2 separate regions of the Homo sapiens genome follow, and region 2 is linked to region 1. The links are contacts of gene promoters, found by promoter capture Hi-C in blood cells and fetal thymus (Javierre and others, 2016). All regions are on one chromosome and are shown on one strand. Each heading gives the region's core, a stretch centred on a gene start or on the middle of the fragment in contact. The rest is flanking DNA. Distances are from core to core; before and after follow the strand shown.

Region 1 (2,844 bases), core at 1-2,500:
AGAGAGCTACCTCTTTTTTTTTTCCCCATCCATTTCAGGAAAGTTTAGGTTTTCATTTTTTTCCTATGGTCTTCTTAGAGTTGTTTCCACGTTAAAGTAGGAAGAAGTAACGAAAAAAAAGTGAGATTTGCCGAAAGCAAATGAAACTTGTTTTGCCTGGTTCTCTGGAAGGAGGTTGAAAAGGTAGACTATGATTTTTCAGGTTCAAACTGCTACTCTAACAAACATTGTCCTACAGGGTGGAATCCAGTCAACCGGTATTGAGATTGATTCGCTAAGGCCTCAGGACACTGGACATTCTTTTTAATTGTTTTTTTTGATTTCCATGACGACAGCTCACAAGACACTAGACATTCTTTTAGGCTCTCAGGTAAATGCGCAACAGGCAGTCTACAAATCCACAAATAAATCGCATCTCAACTCGGATACTGGGGCTAGGGAATGTGCTGATGGTAAAACCATTGGTCCTGACTGTGTGACCTTCATGGAAGGCCTGGGTGCTTAGAACAAATATTTTGAGGATATGGCTGCTTGCCCAAGGGCTGTGGGCCTGTATCTTGTTTGCTCATCATCCTGTCAGTCATTTTTTTCTTTCCCTTTTTTTAAAGACAAAATCTGAACCTAGAAACACCGAAGCCAGAGCTTTTTCTAGACGCGAATCCACTATTTGTGCGACCCTGCACTAACCATTCTAGCCTGGCCTAGACCATACCAGGAACCCTCCAGCTAGCCTGGAGGGGTCCGCACTGCGGGGAAAAAAGCAACAGCTCAGCTCCAACCCCAAAGGTTCCATCACCAGCCAATCGTGGCCCGGGGCTTCTCAAGAAAACCAGAAACGCCTACGGACAGTGAATGGCACTAAGGCCAGCCTATCCGCACGAAGGAGGCGGAAGGGGTGGTGTTGAAATTAACCAATAGAATGGAAGAAGTTGTTGTTGGGAGGGAGGAAGACGCCAGCTAACGTGCGTGAGGCCGCTCCCGGATAGGGGATGCAGGAAGCTCGTGGAGCCAATGGCCGCGGCGGGCGGGCGGCGGCGCGCGTGCGCGTTGGCCCCCGGGCCTGCGGGCGGGAGGCGGGGATGGTGGGGGAGGGGAGCGGGCTGGAGCGCGGCGGAGCTCCTGCCGCCGCCGCAGCCGCTGCCGCCGCAGCGAAGAGGCCATGTTGTGTGGTGTGTGGGGCGGGGGGAGGAGGAGGAGGGAGTAAAGCCTAGAGAGGAGACGGGAGAGAGACACCACACACACGGCACAAGATGGCCGGAGAGGCAGCAGCACCCCGAGCTGTCAGGCGTTCCGCCGCGGCCGCGAGGCCCGCCGGCCGGCGGGGAGCTACGCCCGGACGGCCAGCAGGCCCGCGGGAGTGGGGCTGCCGCGGCTGAGGCGAGGCGGGCCGCGCGCGTCGGCGTCACAGCCCGCGGCAGAGGCGCCCAGGGCGGCCGGGCCCACGACGCCGAAAGCGCCGCTGCGGTTGCCGCCTCGGAGGCTCCCCCGGGCCCCGGCGGCTGGACCCGGCGCGGGCGGGAGGCTCGGGCGGGCGGTCCGGCCCGGGACTCGGGTTTGGGCGACCAGGAGGTGCCGGTGGCCGCGCTCGGACCCGGTGAGTGGCTCCCTAGCTCCTTTTATTGTCCTTTGTCCTTGGGAGGAAAAGCAAAATGTCCTTGAGCGCGCGAGCAGGAGGGGGCGGCGGGCCGGGCCTCGCCGCTCGGCTCTTCTCGCACTGCCCCTCCGTGGTCGGGGGCCGGCTCTCGCCGGCGGGATGCGCCTCGGTGCCCTGGGCCCGAGTCGTAGGGTCCTGGGGTAGGGGGCACGCGGGGCCCCGCTGCAGAGCCCGCGGGCGGCAGGTGGGCGGGGGGCAGCCTCGTCGCCGGGACTGGATCCGCCGGGAAAGGGGCGGCGGGTGAATGCCGGCGAGAGCCCGAAGGGGATCGGGCGTGGAGAGCCCCTTTCTGTCCTGGTGAGTTATTTTGATATTTAGGGTAAAAAAATCCCTTTCAGGTTCTCCAACGGAGGAGCTTTTTAACCTCTTTCCGGTGAGGTGGGAACTCATCTTCATGATCGAATTTAAAAGAACAATGGAACCCTGACTACGTTTCAACAAAAATAAAACTTGTTTTTTTCCCTCCTATTGGGTGTTGGCTTTTAACTCTTTCAAAGCCGATTTTGAAACGGCTGCAGTGATACATGCGAAGGTACTTGCTGCTTATTAAACCTTTATGACGTTAAGGTTGTCTTTGAAAAATGCAAGTTGGAGGAGTGCTTCTGGTATTTCAGAATTACGAAGACAAGTTTACTGTGTCGTCAAGGCTGTTTAATGGAAATAGATTTGATAATTACGGTGCTAGCTAGCTGATGACGTTTGGTTAATGTAGTTTATTTTACCGAGTAATGACGCCAAGATCATTTGATCTCCTGATATTTAAATATGATTAAATACACTGTTTGGTACTTTTTAAAAAGGTCTCAAGGAGCCGTTATCTGCAACTTCTCACACCTGAATGTTAGAACGTACTTGGGTCAATTCCTAGTCTTTAAAAGTTCATAATTTAATTATTTTTAAGAATTTATATTATCACAAGCCATGATCGAAAAACTTTCACAAAAGAACATTCTGACACCAAATCTCTTCCTGAAGTTACTTTCTCGTAATGTAAATATGAATAAAGTAGGACTGCTCTCGGTAATGGGCGATGAAGAGGAGCCATATTTGTTGCATTTGTTGCATGTATAAAAATCTAGATATGCTTAAAACGGAACAGTATTTTAAAAGTACAGGTTTCATAAAATTTAGTAGAGTTCTCTGTATAGTCTCTAATCTTAGAAAAATGTTGGAAGGGTAATTTTTAAGTG
Region 2 (3,113 bases), core at 1-2,500, about 12 Mb before region 1:
GGGCAAATCAGGAGCAGCCAGCTGAGAAGCCAGTCATTTTGCCTTCCTCCTGGAGGCCCAGAAAAGGAGTGCAGTTGCCACAGCAGGTCTGTCCCAGTGATGCCCTTGGCAGAGCCACATAGGGTCAGGGAATATTCCCGAGTAAGGCGTCTGGAGAAGGAACTGGGGTGTCCTCAGGGAAGCCCAGGCAAGGAACTTCCCACAGGTCATCTTTCATGCCCTGTGTGCCTCAGCAGAATACAGGGCTCCCTCCTGTACCTGCCCCCAACAGCACCGTCTCCTGGAGACAAGGCCGTTCTGCAGCTGCCCTCCTCTGTTTGCTCTGGTCTGTCCCACGTGGCCAGCAGATCCTTCTCCCACAAACATTTCCATAAAAGCAATCAGCACGACATAATTTTATTGGGCACTGGAGAGGCGGGGGTCACAGAGAAAGGATCATAGCACGCAATAGAAAACAGGAAGCAATTTGCTTGAGGTCACTCTCAAAATTTCCTTGACCATTCCTGGGGATTTCTCACTGGATGTTTTCTTCCGTGGCCACAGTGTCCACTGTCTCACTCTCCCACTTTTCCCTCCCTGCAGTCTTTTCTCTACAGGGTCCCAAGACTGTTGTCAAGCTGCTATGGATGACCCCCAAGTCTTTCCCATCTACTCTAATTCAAGGGGACTTAACTCTCACAACCAATATGAACTTTGGGATATTTTCTTCAACAAAAAACTAACATCCCTCTTATAAAAAATCAGCCTAAACTCTCCCCCGTGCTTTAAAAAACTTGCTTAAAAAAACACAACAGGATTTTCGAAGAATCCTTTCTTAGAAAACAAACAAAAAAACCAAACAAAAACGTACTTTCTCCCCACTATGCTGAATCTGCTCTCTCCCTCTTTCCTTCTTTCTCTTCTCCCTCCCTCATCCACCAAGCATGGTTCCAGGAAACACTAGTAAGAGAAAAATTTGTGTAAAATCAAATTTATTTCAGGGGCTAATTCTGAAGTCTCCCATGAAGAGGATGCAATATTGGATGTGTTGATGAAAAGACAAAACACATTTGTGCTGTTCTAAGTTGTAAAGCTGCATTGACTGCAGTTGGTATCACATGTGGCTGCCTGTAAAAGAGCTAACAATTCATGAATGTCAACAGATGTCAACTTACAGAGCTCCCAACCAGGTGAAATTAAATTTCATCCCCATGTAATTTCTCTTGTGGACAAGAGACTTAGAGATCATCAGGCCAATATTTGGAGCTTCTAATGCCATGACTCAGCCTTACTTTTTTTAAGGGCTAGTTCGAGAAGCTCAATGATTCCTTTGAAATTGGTTGATCTCTCAGTATTTCATAATGCTCTCCTAAAGCTCAGTTCTACAGTAGGGAACTCGAGCTGAGGCAATGCTCTGTGAATACACTTCTAACTTTTGTAGACCTTTGCTTCCTCCAAAATGTTTATTGTCAATGTAGATCTTAAATTTCAGGTCATGGATATTTGCCATTGCTTTTTTAGTCCCAAAGGATGCATTTGTTCCTTCCTCTTTCCTTCCTCTCTGGAAGGAAGCCTGCAGCCATGTCAAATGGCCCATCATTACACAAATCTGGAATGAACCGGACGTGGAGGCCACCGCAGTATAGCAAAGCATTTCTCTTGCAGACAATCAAATACAGGTGGCATCATTTTGATGATGTCTGCTTTCTCAATCTTTTTTTCCAGATGGGTATTATGTTTGGTTGGGCTATGTCTCTGGAACACTATTTTTCTGCCTCTCTGCCTGCAAAATTCTTACTCTGTTTATGAAGCAGACAGAAAGTACTTCTCTAGGAAGCCTTCTCCACCTCTGGGATGGAACTGGTCTCTCTGTTTCCTCTGGGCCCTGACAGTACCTTAAGCACACTGTGTGATAATCCAAACTCTTCAAGTATTGCATAGCTATTCAGAGCCTGGTTCATCTTGTCCCTAGGCTGTTTTGGGAGGACCCCAAGGCTGCATCCAGGCTCAGTGGTGGAAACAATTCTGCAACAGATTGAGGATGTCACCCTAGGTGCCACAGAGGGGAGCAATGGCACAGGTGCTGAGTATCTGTCATCTTTTGCAGAACACTTACTAAATATTTGAAGAGTGCTTAACAAGTGACAGCAATTGACAAGCATTTTCCTGAGTGCTCTAACCTTAGGGAACACTAGCTGCCAGGTTTTTTTGCTGCCTTGTTTCTACGCTGCCCTATACCCTCCCGGGGTGGGTAGTTCACCAGATGCAGTTGTAACTGAAGCAATGCCAGTCCCTCCACACTCAAAGCCTTTTGTTCCTATCATAAAGAGTCAGGGTCTTCAAGTATGTCAACAGTATGAGCCCATGACCTGGATACCAGGTTGCTGGAAGTCAAGGGATGCTCTGCATGTCTAGGAGGTGCTGGCTCTGCCACGTCAGCACCAAGGAGAAAAGAATCCTCTTTACATGGCTGCTGATGAACTTCTCACTGAAAGCAGCTCAATATCCGTTTTTCCGTCCCAATCAAAGCGTGTCTCGCCTTCTCACAGCTTGAGGCTACCGTTTTGACATGGTCTCGCTTCCTGTTTACACCACAGGAAGCGAGAGAGCTGCTGCCACTGCTGCTACCACAGGAAGACACAGCAGGGAGAAGCCCTAGTGCCTCTGCCGGCTGCCCAGGACCTGGTATCGGCCCACAGACCAAGTCCTCCACAGAGGGCGAGCCAGGGTGGAGAAGAGCCAGCCCAGGTAAGCTTTCATTGAGATCTTCCAAAAGGAAGGGTCTTTTGAAAAAAGGTGCAGGGATAAGATAAGAGCACAAATTGGCCTGAGGATCAGAGTGCTCTGCATTGACATCACCACTGGACCTGGCTGATCAACAGTCAAGGGTTCCAGGTGCTGGGCAGCAGCACCGTGGAGGTGCTGTCCAGGGTGGGGAGCCTCCTGGGTGGACGGGTGATGCTGTGGGGGTGGCAGCAGGAATGCAGGCCATTCTGGATAATTGGGAGGATGGAGCCCTTGGAAGAGGTCCAAAGACACACCCACCCAGCCATCCTGGGCAGCTACCTCTAGGGTGCCAACATTCCAGTTGCAACAGTCCTGCTGCATTCAGGATTTCTGAGTCAGAGAATGCA

The links. Contacts are between HindIII fragments. The CHiCAGO score rates a contact against its expected background, and 5 or more counts as called.
Region 2: a contact is called between a fragment that was not itself captured here and the fragment with the promoter of CHASERR in region 1, in 1 of 17 cell types (total CD4 T cells). The highest score is 5.9, in total CD4 T cells.

The regions. Positions count from the first base shown.
Region 1 is chr15:92,881,593-92,884,436 of GRCh38, forward strand. It overlaps CHASERR (CHD2 adjacent suppressive regulatory RNA), which reads left to right and starts at 1,251. Exons shown (of 6, transcript NR_037601.1): 1 at 1,251-1,594; 2 at 1,993-2,186. RefSeq lists enhancers at 578-667, 1,093-1,734 and silencers at 978-1,107, 1,728-1,977. The HindIII fragment of the contact is 7,161 bases long and covers 1-2,844 here.
Region 2 is chr15:81,294,352-81,297,464 of GRCh38, forward strand. IL16 (interleukin 16) reads left to right here. Exons shown (of 19, transcript NM_172217.5): 13 at 2,577-2,727. Among named protein-coding and RNA genes, the nearest start is that of STARD5, 28 kb to the right of the region's middle. RefSeq lists enhancers at 2,280-2,846, 2,847-3,113. The HindIII fragment of the contact is 2,959 bases long and covers 1-2,730 here.